Regions from separate parts of the Homo sapiens genome. Here regions 2, 3, 4 and 5 are each linked to region 1. The links are contacts of gene promoters, found by promoter capture Hi-C in blood cells and fetal thymus (Javierre and others, 2016). All regions are on one chromosome and are shown on one strand. The core of a region is centred on a gene start or on the middle of the fragment in contact, and the rest is flanking DNA. Distances in the headings are between cores, read along the strand shown.

What was found. The method cuts DNA at HindIII sites, captures the fragments that hold promoters and counts their contacts. A CHiCAGO score of 5 or more calls a contact.
Region 2: a fragment that was not itself captured here is called in contact with the fragment with the promoter of GPRIN2 in region 1 in 1 of 17 cell types (erythroblasts); the score reaches 6.1 in erythroblasts.
Region 3: a fragment that was not itself captured here is called in contact with the fragment with the promoter of GPRIN2 in region 1 in 1 of 17 cell types (erythroblasts); the score reaches 13.6 in erythroblasts.
Region 4: a contact is called between a fragment that was not itself captured here and the fragment with the promoter of GPRIN2 in region 1, in 1 of 17 cell types (total B cells). The highest score is 6.8, in total B cells.
Region 5: a fragment that was not itself captured here is called in contact with the fragment with the promoter of GPRIN2 in region 1 in 1 of 17 cell types (total B cells); the score reaches 6.8 in total B cells.

The regions. Positions count from the first base shown.
Region 1 is chr10:46,555,408-46,558,288 of GRCh38, forward strand. GPRIN2 (G protein regulated inducer of neurite outgrowth 2) reads right to left here and starts at 1,251. Exons shown (of 3, transcript NM_001385282.1): 1 at 1,091-1,251. RefSeq lists enhancers at 582-1,287, 1,993-2,698. The HindIII fragment of the contact is 15,777 bases long and covers 1-2,881 here.
Region 2 is chr10:48,250,763-48,253,643 of GRCh38, forward strand. FRMPD2 (FERM and PDZ domain containing 2) reads right to left here. Exons shown (of 29, transcript NM_001018071.4): 2 at 804-929. Among named protein-coding and RNA genes, the nearest start is that of FRMPD2, 22 kb to the right of the region's middle. The HindIII fragment of the contact is 1,198 bases long and covers 753-1,950 here.
Region 3 is chr10:48,225,680-48,228,560 of GRCh38, forward strand. All of the region lies in intron 10 of FRMPD2 (FERM and PDZ domain containing 2), which reads right to left. Among named protein-coding and RNA genes, the nearest start is that of FRMPD2, 48 kb to the right of the region's middle. The HindIII fragment of the contact is 2,146 bases long and covers 462-2,607 here.
Region 4 is chr10:45,222,310-45,225,190 of GRCh38, forward strand. LOC105378283 (a long non-coding RNA gene) reads right to left here and starts at 2,201. Exons shown (of 6, transcript XR_001747443.2): 1 at 2,010-2,201. The HindIII fragment of the contact is 3,272 bases long and covers 1-2,881 here.
Region 5 is chr10:45,239,832-45,242,712 of GRCh38, forward strand. It overlaps the pseudogene CUBNP2. Among named protein-coding and RNA genes, the nearest start is that of OR13A1, 74 kb to the right of the region's middle. The HindIII fragment of the contact is 863 bases long and covers 942-1,804 here.

The DNA of each region.
Region 1 (2,881 bases), core at 1-2,500:
AAACCCCCATTGCACAGTGGGGATACAGCACCCTCCAGGAGGTGGTTTAATCCACCCCAGAGTGAACGGGGCCTGATAGGAACACTCAGGGCCAACTCTGGGCAAAGCAGCAGGCAGCATTCCTAAAGGGAGGGTTTGGAGGAGACAAAACCTGCCCTTCACAATGAACGTGCCTTAAGGGCTACATGCCCCGGGTCACAAGCTGTGCCAGGAAAGGGTTCTGGGGTAACTGTGGGGTCAGTGGCCCCATGGATGAGGCTCTGCTCACCAGGAAGAGGCCTAGGCGCCCAACAGCCCCTGAGCTTCCTCCCCTGGGGAGGATTTGCCCACAATCCCTGGGGGGCACCTAGGTGGAGAGGGTGCCCCGGCCTAGAAGCAGCCTAGGCGGCCGGTGTGTCCCTATCTGCACGCTCACAAGCACTCATGCCCCAGCCTGGGACACACAGGCCCGTATGCAGTAACAGCGTCTACCCAGCTGCACTCTGCACGCCAAGCACAGGCCGCCCCTGCTGCGGGGCCAAAGGCCTGAAAGCACCGCACCACGCAGCCTCGCCCAGAATAGCTCCCCTCCCGCCCCTCCTGCACAAAGCCCACCCGGACTTAGGGAGAAGGGGGCTCAATACGGGCCCGAAACGAGGCTACAGACCTTCTCAGGAGCAAAGGCAGCGACTGCAGGCAAATGGGGCTGTGGGCCGGGGTAATGATGCGGGACAGGAGAAGCCAAAGGGCAGCAAGGCTGGGGGCGGGGTAGGCGGCGCAGTAGGCTGAGGGAGGGGAAAAGGAAGAAGGGGAGAGGGAGGAGCGATGGCAGCAGGGGTGGAGGCCGAAGGAGACAGGGTCCCGGACAGACTTGTGAAAATGGGAGGATGGGCAGAGGAGACGTAGAAGAGGGGACAGGACAGGACAATGAGAGGCGGAGCGCGGGGAGTGCGATGCGGCCACCGGGGGCTCTGGGCGCTGGGCAGGGGCCAGGATGCCGGGGGTCTGAGCGCAGGCAGCGGGAAGGAGTGGGTTCTGAGGCTCAGCAAGGGGGAGGTGCCGCCCACCACGCCCCCCGCCCCAACGGGAGCGCGCGGAGCCAGCCTCTCACCCTCTCGCCCGCCGGGGCCGCGCAGGCGGGGGAAGCGCTGCTCCTGCGGCCGCCACAGGTGCCAGGTGCCGCGGCCCAAGATGGAGCCAGAGCCGACCTGGCCTGGGCGCGAGACGCCGCCCGCCGCCGTCGGCCCGGCCCGCGGAGCAAGCGCCGGGTACAGGGAGGGGCCAGCGGGGCAGCTGGCACCGGGGCGGCGGGAGGGGCGGCGGGCGGAGACCTCGCTCACCTGGGCCCGTGCCACTCTGGAGCCTGCCACCGCCCCGCCGCGGCCCGGGATCTGCGTCCGCGCGCCCCCACCCCTCCTTCCCGACCCCTCCTCAGGCCGGGTCCCCACTGTCCTCGGTCTTTTCGGCCCCGCCCGCACCACGACCGCCTGTTCTCCAGGCTGCCCAGCGAACCCCCAAGACTCCCACTTCCCCGACGCAACCCCACCGTCCCGGGTGTATAGGCGCAGCTCCCCACGATTCTCCGGCCCCAGACCCAGCCCCTCAAGTCCACCTCCTCGTAGCCCCACCCCCTCGCTCCAGTGCCCCTCGCTCCAGTTCCCCCTCCGCACCACGCCCCGCATTGAGGTCTCCGCGCCGGCGGCTACCCCTTTCCTCTCGCCTTCTCCATCCTAGCTCCGCCTCTCACAATTCTCTGGCTCCAGATCCCGCCCACGAGACCCCGTTTCCTATAGGGCCCTTTCGTCTGGGATACCAGGCCTGGTCTCCACTAGCCTCGGACTTTCCAGCCCCAGGTCCCAAATCCTGGACCCACCGTCCCATCCTCTGAGCTCCACTCTCATGGACCCCAAACCTCACTCCAGTCCTTTGAACTCCATGATCCTGGCCTGGCCTGGCCCCCGGAGCCCTCCATTGCCCCTCAAGAGCCCAGCCTGGTAGACTCCTTCCCTAGGGTTGCATCTCCAGCCCCGCCCCTGAAGACTGGTAATCTACCACCCCTTTCCCTGCCCACGTGCCCCTACCCAGCCCGACTTGAGGCCTTCAGTCTCCCAGCCGCGGACCCCAACAGCGGGCGAGGGCAGTGACCGTGCGGGGATGAGCCACCTCCACTGGAGCCCGCCTTCTTCTCCGCAATTCCCCGCAGCACCACAGCGCCTTCCCGGTCCCGTGACGCCGGGGGCCAGCCCAGGCCCTGGGATCGCCAGGTTCCACACTATGAGGCTGAGGACCTGGGCCTACGGTTCCCTCAATATCCCCCAGTTTCCACAACCGCTGGCCAGCTTCAGGGCGCAGGACAGGCAGCCCCGGCCTCCCGCCACTCGCAATAGATTCCTGCTGTCCACCCAGGGCCACGTGGTATGAGGCACCTGTACTATCTCTGGGCCCCAGTATCACATAATTGGGTCCCAATGTTGGCACTTCTCCGTTGTCCCCTGTGCCGGGACCCCCAACTTGTTGGCCCAGCCCTGTGCTGAGAGGCCTGCGTTCCTCCCTTCCAGTGCCCAGGAGCCAACAGTATCTCTAATTCTCCCCGTTTGGGTAGCAAAGGACCTCAGTCTGCCCAGAGAGACTCAGACTGCCCCAGGTAGCCCTCTCCAGCGAGGTCTGAGAGCAGCTCTCAGATTCTGGCAGATGGCTGCCTTTGGCCAAATGCCCACAGGGGTGTCGACGTCAGACCCCAGGCTTGGGCCTCACCATCACACACTGCCTGGTAGGGGGATCCTGCTTAAAGGAGGCAAATAGGGGATTTGTTTGCCGAGGCCACTACCCACTTCTGCCCCTGTCCAGGAATTAGGACCTCTGCTTCCACATCTTAGGCATCTTACTCATATTCCCTCTTTAG
Region 2 (2,881 bases), core at 102-2,601, 1.7 Mb after region 1:
CCTCCCCTGTTTAGAACACAGAGTAGGTCTGCCTTTTTTTTTTTTTTTTTTTTGAGATGAGTCTTGCTCTGTTGCCCAGGCTGGAGGGCAGTGGCACAATCTTGGCTCACTACAACCTCTGCCTCCTGGGTTCAGGAAATTCTCCTGTCTCCGCCTCCCGAGTAGCTGAGATTACAGGCGAGCGCAACCATACCTGGCAAATTTTTTTTTTTGTATTTTTAATAGAGATGGAGTTTCACCATGTTGGCCAGGCTGGTCCCAAACCCCTGACCTCAGGTAATCTGCCCACCTTGGCCTCCCAAAGTGCTGGGATTACAGGTGTGAGCCACCGTGCCCAGCCAGGTCTGCCTTCTGATGGGGCACAGACTAGTGCAACATCTGGTGGACAGAGTGTAGGGGTGTCCTGGGTGACCACACCCTGCCTCTCATCTCTGGTTATGCCCAGAGACAGCCCATGTGCTGTTAGACACCCATAGCACTGCAGCCACTCTCTTCCTAAATCCTCCCAGCTTTGCATGCCTGGAAATGCTGCAACACCAAGGCAGAAGCAAAGCCTTTCTTTTGACTCTGCCACATGGCATGGGTCCAAGAGTCAGGCCTGCCCTCCCAGTGCAGCTCCAAGGATAGGTGCTATTCTTCTACTCATTCTAATACCTCAGAGTAATCACAGATCAAGCAGCAGCAACCTTGTTCTGTGCTCTCAGAGGTTGATTTAAAAAAGCAGCAGCAGCCAGAACTGTGTTTGTGTGGGAAGCTTCACATACAACTCCCTGTGATTTGACTGCCCCCAAACACTCTCTTACCGTTGCGGAGGTCTTCCAGGAGCTGCTCAGCGGCCAGGAACAGGAGGGACCAGATTTCCTCCTCAGACAGAGCTTCACCCCTGACCTGTAGGGCGCTGGCCAGCGTCACAGAGGACAGGCTCATGCCTACAATAAAGACATGCATGTGACAGGGCCTCTGCAATGTCCAGGAACATGTCCGGGCCCGTACTCGCCACTCTGGTGCAGCCAGGCATGGTCTGGCCACTACTGCACACCGGCACTGTGTTTTCAGCACCTGGGTCCCTGGGGTCAGGCACAGAGCCAAGCACACAGAGGAGTTAAAGAAATGTTAATTGGAGGACTGACCAGGTTGGCTGGTCGGTTCTCAGTGAATGAGTAAACAAACAATAAAACTCCCAAATGAAAGGTTAAATGAATAAATAAATGAACAACCAAATGAAACATGAGAACAGCACCTCCCAGCTGGGTGCGAGCTGTTGCAGAGAGTAACCTACACCTGGGTAGTGTGTGGCCTCCTCTCCTTCTCTCTCTGGAGAAGTTAGCTAACATTTTTGCCTGCAGTACGTGATTCACATCTTTCATCTCTGGCTGCCACATGTAGAGTCAGATTTGGTGCCAGTACCACCCCTTTCTCCAGCACCTGCCTGAAGTGCCAGAGCGACTCACTAGACAGAAGTATAAGCCCCATGTTTCAGAAAGGGGCAGCCTCACAGATAAACTGGAGGAGGCTCAAGAGGGCTAGTCTTCTCTTCCCTCTCTTCTGGTAAGCAGGGCCTTTAGACCAAAGCTGATGTTTAAATGTCTATCTCCCTGACAAAGCTGCCACCCACTAATCTCCAGAGACCCAGGTGCTGAGTGGCACCGGAAGAAGCCAGGCGGGCTTTTCCTAATCCATTTACATCCTCACTGATCTTTCTCTACAGCCAGAGCTCAAGCAGGGCGGGTGTGCAGTGTCGGGCGCTAGATGGGGAGCACATAGAGGCACCCCCATCCCCCATTGACACACTAATCCAAGATCTACTCCCCAGCTGCCCAGCTCCCTGCAGACACCTCTGCTACCAGCCTCCTCCAGCCTCAGGAAGAGAGGCTGGTTTCAGGAGAAAGAGGCTTGGTCTGCTACCTCTCCCTGGGGCAGAAAGGGAGCCGCAGCAGGACCCCCTCAGAAAGCTTGACCTGTGAGCCGTCACTTATCACAAGGAGTCTGTGAAGAAGGGAGTATTGTTTCCATTTACAGACAGGAAATAAGTCCAAGGTAATCAAGTAAAAAGTGATGAATTAGAAGCTGAACTCCAGGCCCTCTCTCTTTTTCTTTTCTATTTCTTTTCTTTTTTCTTTCCTTTCCTTCCTTTTCCTTTCCTTTTCTTTCGTTTTTTTATCTCTCCTCTCTCTTTAGAAACTGTTTGAGACTTATGGACTAGGCATTCCTATTCCACCACATTTTTCTAACTCTCTATAGCCACAGTGAAAGGTTGCTTATTAAAGATAAGAAGGGGGAAGAAGAAGACCATGATTCTTATACAAAAAATCTCTAAATCCCAAAATAAAATATTGAATGGGTGGGGTTTTTTAAATTGCTTTATGACTAGACAAAAATGCATTAAAAGTCTTCTAGGCTGGTGTGGATAGTGAAGACCATTATTTCAGTACAATAATTCAATGGAGGGAGGACAAACTTTTCAACAAATAGTTCTGGATCCATCATGGAAAAAAGCTGAACATGGTCCTAAACCTTGCACCTTATGCAAAAATTACTTCAAAATGAATCATAGATTTAATATAGAACATAAAACTATAAACTTTCATGGAGGAAAATGGGAGAAAATATTTAGGACTCATCACAAACAAGGACTGCCCAATAAAATGAACAGCTGATTTCTCATCAAAAACCATGGAGACCAAAAGGCAGTTGGATGACGTATGGTCTTAACTAGCCACACCAGCCTCAAACACTTAATGCATTTTTTTCTAGGCACAAAGCAGTTAGAAAAACCCCACCCAATATCAAAATACTTGGAGGGGAGACTGTCAAACAAGAATTTGGTAGACAACAAAGCAATCAATCCTTCAAAACTGAAAGAGAAATTAAGACCTATTCA
Region 3 (2,881 bases), core at 285-2,784, 1.7 Mb after region 1:
TTGTTGTTATTTTAGGTTGGCAAAACCTGGTGTTAGAGATGTGGGATCCAAAAATGACAAGCCTTTTCCCATACCAGCGACCGCAGAACACGTGCAGTGCCCACTGGAGCCCATTGTGCTCTCTGCTTCCAGGAATCATCTTTCTGCTGGTGCTAAGTTCTGTCTTGGATTTGAGCACCCTCATTTTGGCTTGCTTTGACTTGATTCGAGATCTGGTTTTATAGGTCTGAAGGACATGGTCCTTCTTCTGAGTATTCTTTTGGTTTCACTTTTGTAGGGGATTTGGCATCCTTTCTGATGTGTACTCTTTTGGGGTTGGTTGTTTGTGTACAGAATTTAAATTGGCATCACATAGACTTTCCAAACATAATTCACCCCATGAATTTTTAAGCTTATGGACAAATTATACCAAAGATAATTTAGAGCTCCAATGGCCAGATGGAGACCATTTGAACTGCCCAAGCTTGTTTTTTCCTTAGAATTAAAATTAGAAGACTGCAGCTATAAGGTCAGTTTGAATGGGGCACATATTTCAATTGGCATCTTGAGGCTTCAAAACGCATTCAGGACTCAAAAATGCCTTAATGCAAATATCTCAAAGCTAGCTGAGACTCATTTGTCTCCAGAACCTTCCCTCCCCTATCTACAATTCCTCCTCCTCTTTGTCTTCCTCTAGCCGAACTCCTCTTTTTTCCAAACTGCTCAGCTACTAATCTAATTCTTCTCTCCATGACCACCAAGTCATTTTTTAATATGTGAATCTTCTAGGGAAGTTCTAGATGGGTGGAATAAAGAAGTTAAAATATGCCATTTGGGCCTATCAGCTATTTAAGTTAAAGGCACTTTTAAGCGCACTTTTAAGAGCAGGTGCAAATTGGCCACTTTGACCCTTGTGTTATTTCTTAAAGAAGATGAAATTCCCATGTGATAGTCATCCTCCCTCTCCTGGAAGGAAAGGCAACATCCTTATCTTCAAGGACAAGAAGTTTAGACACAGAATACCATACAGACCTTGTTGGAATAACTCTGATCTTTTAAGCCTCCTCATAATTTAGTCCCATTTTCACAATTAACTGTTTTTTGTCCAACCCAGTAACTAATTTGGTGGAGTCTTCATCTTCTTATGGGGGCTCCCATGCCACATAAAACATTTATTATGCTTTTCTCCTGTTGATCTTTCTTATGTTAGTTTATTTCTCAGACACAGCTGGAGCCTGTGAGGATAAAGGATGGAAGTAGAAGTTTTCCTTCCTTACAGTTTCTGGCAATGAGGATGGGACCCTAAGAGGCTGGACACCCCACTCACTCCAGCCTATGGATGAGATGCTGAGAGGCCTGACAAAAGCCTGCAAAAGGTGGGGGGATTCTTTCCAAAGCCAGCTTTCCCAAATATCTATGGATAGTGCCTAGCTAAGAGAAGAAGGTAAAAATTTTTTCTTGTCCCTTCTTTTCTAAATTTGAATTGGCAGGAGAAAAACATTTGTAAGGTTGTTCTCTGAATTGTGACTCTTGTGAATTTGGTTCTAGGTTCTAACAGAAATCGCTCTTTTTTTTTGTTTTTTAATCTCTGTCTTCTGTGTGATTTACCACAAGGATAAAAGTTACAATAAGACTCTCCTTTCATCTTGTTTTATGTCTCAAGAGCTCTGTAGCCAGTGAGGATATCTTCTCTGGTCTCCACCAGCTGGGTGGTGGAGACTGTCAGGTTTGCATCAGATGGCGAGCCAGCTGGCTAGGAGTCTGAAACATGAAGCATCTCCTTGTCCCAGAGTGCCAGCTCCCAGGGGAATTTGTCTCAATTGTTTCAACCTCCACTACCTTGTTAACAAGTAAGGTCTTTGTTTTTCGTCTTTGGGAGAGATGTTGGATCTCGAGGGGGGTACTGCATTTTTCACGCTCTTTTTGTGGAAGCCTCTCGTATCCATGGTTAAGACATAAAAGGCTTATTGGCTTTGAGTCACAATTGAAGTGGTTATACCTTTGGATATTTGGACTTTTGTATCTAAAAGTATTTTTAGAGAGCCCTCATCATGAACAACTGTCCTATTGGTACATGCGAGAAGATTTGGCTTGAAGGAAGAAAATAAACACTTTTATAAATTAACTGTTTTCTCAGAAAAACAGAACTAACCTAAATGTTTTTTGAGTTCAGGTGATCTGGTATAATTTTTGGTAAATATAGAAGCTAGTTTAAGTTTTTTGGTTCAATTAAAATAGTCATGTTTGGAGACTTGTCAACATTAAACATAATACAGACATACGACTTCTTCTATCTGGATTTATCAAGCAAAAGCGTATGTATGTTTAAGATGGTAAAATTGTAAATGTAACCTAAGAATAAAACATACAGTAAAAATAAATTGCTTGATGTGAGACAAATGTGACAATGAAAAAAGAGAGTTAAAAAAAGCCATATGTTTTAACTTTTAGGTTCTTTGCTTCTGTGGTATTTTTTAATACTTGCCTGATTTACTAACAATAAAAATAACGTAAGATAATGACTACATTTGTTTCATGTCTTATGGAGTTTTTATAAACAATTCAAACATAATTGTTAAAACCAAGTGAATTAATAAATGTAAATATAAATGAAATAGAGTATAAGTAAGCTTTTCAACAATGATTATGTTTTATAAGATATATCTACTTAAAATGGTTTATAAAATCTTTTTGGTTACTTAAAACATTACAGTTATAGTAAGTTAAATGAAATGATGAATATTCATTTAATAGACCACTTCCAAATAAGATATTATGCTGAAATATTAGTTGTTGAACATAAGTTTAAGCTTATATACTTTTGTCTCCTCATTGTAGAGGAACAAAAGATATTTGGGTCTGTTAATTAAAATGCTCTATTCTACACTGAAAAAATGTGCTA
Region 4 (2,881 bases), core at 239-2,738, 1.3 Mb before region 1:
ATGCCAGCACGTTGGAAGGCCAAGATGGGAGGACTCCTTGAGCCCAGGAGTTTGAGGCCTAGCCTGGGCAGCATAGCAAGACCCCATCTCTACAAAAAAATAAAACCATTAGCCAGGCGTGGTGGTGTGTACCTACAGTCCCAGCTACTCAGGAGGCTGAGGTGGGAGGATCACTTGAGCCTGGGAGGTTGAGGCCACAGTGAGCTGTGAATGCACCATTGCATTCCAGCCAGGGTGACAGAGCGAGACCCTGTTTTCAGGAAAAAAAAAAAATTACACTTATAATTAATGTAGCCAAGTGAAATATTTTAATACTTGTATATATTAAGCACTGTGTCACTGTGTGTGCACTGCTGAGAACTGAGCCCTAGTGGAGGCTCCGAAGAGCATCCTGGAACCCCGTAGGCTCCGAGGAGTCCCGAGGTCAGGGAGTTTGCAGAGAGCAGCCTTGGGTCAATGTTACAGAAGCCAGAGGAAGTGGACTCTTGACATCTCCAAATTCACTTCCACCCAGCTTCCCAAAAAGCACTATTATTCTTCATTAGCTTCTTCTTTAGGAAAATTTAAGAATGATCTTGCTTTTCAGTACCCAATACTGAAATTTACTTCAGGAAGCAAGTGGCTATCTTTTCTTCCCTAATAAAAGCAATGGCTTCAAAGAGATAATAGAGCTCAACCGAAATAGCTAAGCCATTCTCCCCATTTATAAATATCACATAAAGTCTCCTCTTCAAAAGCTGAAGGGTATAAAGCTCCTCTGCTGAAAGCAGCCTCTCTCTTCTACCCAGTGAGAACGAGTGCTGGAGGGAGGAAAGCCATGGGGGCCAAGGGTCCCGCTATGCCAGGCATCATCTTCCCTATCCCCTTCTCTTTCTCCTCTGTATCAACAGTGCTCCCAATAATGACCATGATCATGGCAGAGCTGGGCAGGGGCAGCAAGGGACACACCTAGATCTTCAGTTCCAGAGGCATCTGTTCTGTTGCTGACAGCGAGGACCCTTACGGAATGCAAGAGACCAACACACACCAAGGCTGAGAAGCTAACTAGTACACAACCTAAGTTTAATGGCACGTATTTTCATAAAGGCTATGAAACGCAAATCAACTACATTTCCTCCCTTTTCCTTCTGCCAAGACGTATTAATGGCATCAACTCCAATCTCTATCCCAGGCAGGTTTTCAAACCGGGAAAAGCATGGCTTCACAGTAAACCTGACTCTGCCATTCTTTCCATGTCTCAATGGCTTTCCATCACCTTTCAGGGTCTCCTGAACATCTCCCTTCTTCTCTCGTCACATCCTGGACGTGATCTCACACACTCATGGGCCTAATCCATCATTCTTTCATTTTTTTTCATTCCTCAAACTATTTTTGAGCATCTACTGTGCTCCAGGCACTATTATAAAAAAAAAAAATGCAAGCATGAACATTGCACTGCTTTTGTCTTCCCAATGTCCCAGTGGAGAAGGGAGACTTCTAGATTAAAAAAAAAAAAAATCATTACAATCCTACGTGACAGAAGTCACAAAACAAGGCACACGTCCAACTTCACAGGGCAGGGAGTGGCTATGTTAGCTTGGTGCAGACAGAGAAGATTTTACACAGGTGGTGATGTCTAAGCTGACTCTTAGAAGTAAAACGATTTCAGGTGAAAAAGACTGAGGGTGAGAGAAAACAGAATTCGTAAAAGCACCAAGATCTGAACAAGTAGGCTCCGGTCCAGAAAGGACAATAAATTCAGAATGGCTGAAATGCCAACTGCATGGAAGGGTAAGGTAGTGTTCAGATTCGGAAAGGCCTTGTGCATCACGCCTAGAAACCTGGAGCATTACAGTCGGTAACGGACAACCTGGAAAAGTGTGGAGAGGGTTTAAACCAAAGCCACGTCAGCCTGAAGGGCGTCCGGGTGCAGGGAGGGGATGGGGCAGGGCAGGGGACTGGGAAGGGTCCAGCCCCGGTCCGGCCACGCAGAGAGAAGCAACCCCAAGTGCGACGCCGCACACACTCACCGCAGAGGGCAGCCCCTAAGAGGGTGGGCGTGCAACCACAGGCTTCGGCAGGACGCACTCCGGCTGCGACAGATGCCCTCGTTCCCTGCTACACCTGCACTAAATAACTAACACGCCCTGTCTCGGCACACCGCGCAGCTGCCAGCTCCACGCCCGAACCTACCCATATTAAGAGAACAGCTCGCTAGGCGTGGCTCCAGGGCCAGGTTCCGCCCTTAAAAGAATATGGAAGAGGCTGGCCAATCACGTACGTTATTCGGCTTCGAGACCCCGCGCCACGCTGAGGTTAATTTATCGCCGTGGCGAACACTCCGCGGTTTGGAACTCTGATTGGGCCGAGCTTGGCGCGTGCGCGCGATGTTTGGCGCGTGTTCAGTTGATGGGTCGAAGCCCAGAGGGCTGTGGGGGAAAGCAGAGAAGTTTATGGCGCGACTGCGCAAGGGAGGGTAATGGCTGAGGGTGGGTGTTGCGAAAGCTGGAAGTAAATTGCCTTCGAATGTTTCGCTTCTGTAACTGCGGCTCCACTCGCCAGAAGTTGCTACCCTGAGTCCCACAATGTGCCTCTGAAGGACCTTGTGGGGCACGCAGCCTCTCGCCCTATGAAGAGCTTCTCCAGACAGGAATTCTGGCGTGGTCTACGTTTCTCCAGCGCCCCGCTGGAAATCTTTTTTGACAGGTTTCTAAGGCTGGCTTTTACCCCTGACCCTTTTGCCCTTAAGCAACAAGAACCACCCTCAGGGCTGGAAGCTACAAGTAAAACCCTACCATTTAAAGGTCATTTGAAAACACCACTAAAGCGATGTCTTTCCCGACTATGACTTTTACATCTGTGAAACATAACATTCTGGCTCCCAGGAACCTCCCGCTTTCTC
Region 5 (2,881 bases), core at 123-2,622, 1.3 Mb before region 1:
GTTCCTACGGCAGTTCACAAGAATGGAATGCTGAGGCTTCCTGGTCCAGCTGCCAATAAACTATGCCCACAGTCTTCCCACCGAGAGCCAGACGGAGCTACATTTTACAGGCCTAAGCTGTGGTTTCCTTTCTTTGCTTATGGGACAGGAAGTTTCAGATCCATTCTACGGAGTAATGAAGGACAGCGAGGAGGAAGAGTTCTTACTGTCCATGGCTGGAAAGCAAGGCTTTGCTTCCCAGCATCTATCAGGCAAATGGCAAATGTTGACTCTGATCAATAATGGTCCATTCAAGCTGGAGTGAGTTAAGAGTTAGTTGCACTGTGACTCCAACCTAACGGGATTATTCCATCTTTCATCCAGATCCCACTCTCCTCATTCTTTCTGCTTTACACTTCATATAAATATATGGATCTCCGTGGTGGGGGAGGTACGTAGGTCCAAGTTGAGTAACCTGACCGGCACAAAGAATACTGTATTTGTCTCTTCGTTTCCTCCCTGCTACATACATCTTTTGGTTTCCTGTCATGGGAATATTCCTTTAGAAAAGGCATGAGCTTCCTCTGAGTGTTATTTATGAAACTACATGTTAAGGCTATTGATTAATAAAGGATTTAGATGAATTCCAAAGGGGAGAGCTTTCCAGGATGATAAAACTGCATCAAGAATCATGTTGAAGCTAAACCCATAGGCAAAGACCATGTGCCAGAACACCCTTCCTCACCAGGCCGGGCAGAAGGTGACAGCAGCCCTAGAAGCCAAATCAGATGAGGTGGGTTGCAGGTGAGAAAAGATGTTTTGTTGGGAACAAAGGCTGCAGCTACCAAGAAACTAGCAGCTGAACAGAAGCCCACTGGAAAGAATCCTCCCACAGAAGGAAAGAAGCCTGCTGCATACACCAGTACATTTGTTTATGCTACAAAGATCAAATCATCTTGGGAAGCTTATTTTGAATGAAGACCTGATCAAAGAGGCAGTGAGAAAAAAAAATAAAACAAAAAATACGACTCCAGATCAGGTGTAGAGGAACAAGCAAACTTTTTGGAAACCTTACTGAAGCCTCTTGTATGGTGAAACAAAGCCAGTTTAGAGAGCATCGGGATGAGGTTTAGATTTAAATTCCACTCTCAGAGGAATTCAGCATCCTTATCCTTTTGAGTCTCAGGTTCCACCTGAGTTTATTTCCTAAGGATGAATGCATTTTCAACAGAGCTTGCAAAGGTCACAACCGCATGAGCTCTGGGGGGTTTTCTGGCAAAACACAGGTGCTGAGTTCCACACACTGGGTCCGCATCAGATGAGTCTTATTCAGACCGTTTCCTGCCTATGAGCAATGATATTCATGTTCCATCTCACATGCTCAATGCAGGTGATGTGGCAGAAAGAGCACAGAGGGAGCTCACCAGGGGCTCTGGAAGACCCCAAAGGTTCAGGCCCACAAGGGGCATGGCTCTGCCTGCTCCAGGTGCAAGGGGGGCTTCTCTCTCAGTGTGTCCTGGGGTGGGAGTTGGGGGTGAATGGGTGGAGAATGGGCAAACAGCAAAGTCACTTCTGTGTCCAAATGAGAGCTCTGGAGTTGTGGTGGAAAAAGGACAGACCACACTTCCTGCAACAAGGGAGCACTTTTTCAAGGCAACACTTGTCTTTAGAGGATGTTGACGATGCCCCAAACTTACTGTAGCTGTCAGGGAAATTAGGTGAGCTATTTAGTATCATTCAGTTTCATTTTACAGAATCAGCTTGTTGTTCTTAGACTTTCCTCTGATCCTTTTAGGTCTCAACTTACATATTGCCCTCTTAAAGAAGCTTTCTAGTTCCCAGACTGAGTTAGGAACCCCTACCCCTGCTGGACTCAGTTAGTCCTTTCCACATTGTGCTGTAATTGGCTATACCCCATCTGTCCTTTCCACCAGACTAGGAGTCTTCCGAGGGCCCTGAGGTTCCCAATTTCCGGTGTTTGGACTGGTGCTCTGTAAATGTTTAGGGAATGAAAGGGTAATGAATAAATTAATGAAACAAGTAAGAATCATAGAGCATTAGAAGCACTAAAGAAAAGGTGTAAAATCCATCATCATTTAAATGATATTCAAATGCATATTACCTCCAAGAAATCGTTTCTGCATTCAATTGAGTTCTCAATGCCAAACAAATGAAAAAAGAGGGTGTGGTTGTGGGGGGCTGTGAGAGTAATGGTGCAATCCATGTCACTGTCGTAGTTATCTGGCCATCCAGTACTCCTCAGGTTGCCAAATGCCTTGTGATAGTCTCTGTTGCAATCTTAGGAGAAAAATATGCATAATTAATGTATGCATTCCAGCGTTCAGTGCTCTTTCAACTTCGCAGGAATAATTCAAAAAGATCATTATATGTGAACAAACTTTAGAAAAAGGTAATCCAGCTTCTTCGTTTACCTTTGAGATAATTGAGACCCTGAGCAGTGAAGTGAATTTCAAGCAGCACACACACATGCAATGCAGCAGCTCATTCACACAAACACCCCTACAGGAAGCATGACACAGGAGCCTTCTCCTTTAAAGACGAATACTCGAGGATCCTTTGAACTTTTCTGATCACATTGAGGTGAAGTGGCTAGCATTCAGACTCTCTTTTAGACAAGGACACTACCTCCAAGACAGAGTTTTGCGCAAGGATTTTAAATCCATTTGTGAGTTATTTGTGGGAAATCGTTCTTTACCTTTTTTTTTGTAAAAAAAATCTAAAGTACTTTTGTTTGTTTAACCAAAGGCAGCTTTCATTTGAATCAATTCAAAATAAATATCAAATAAAGTGTTCTGTGAAAATAAACTTCTCAGTGATAGTAATCAGGTAACTCTTTTAAGGCTTTTTGATTTTTACAAAAATAATTTTCTAAGATTTTCAA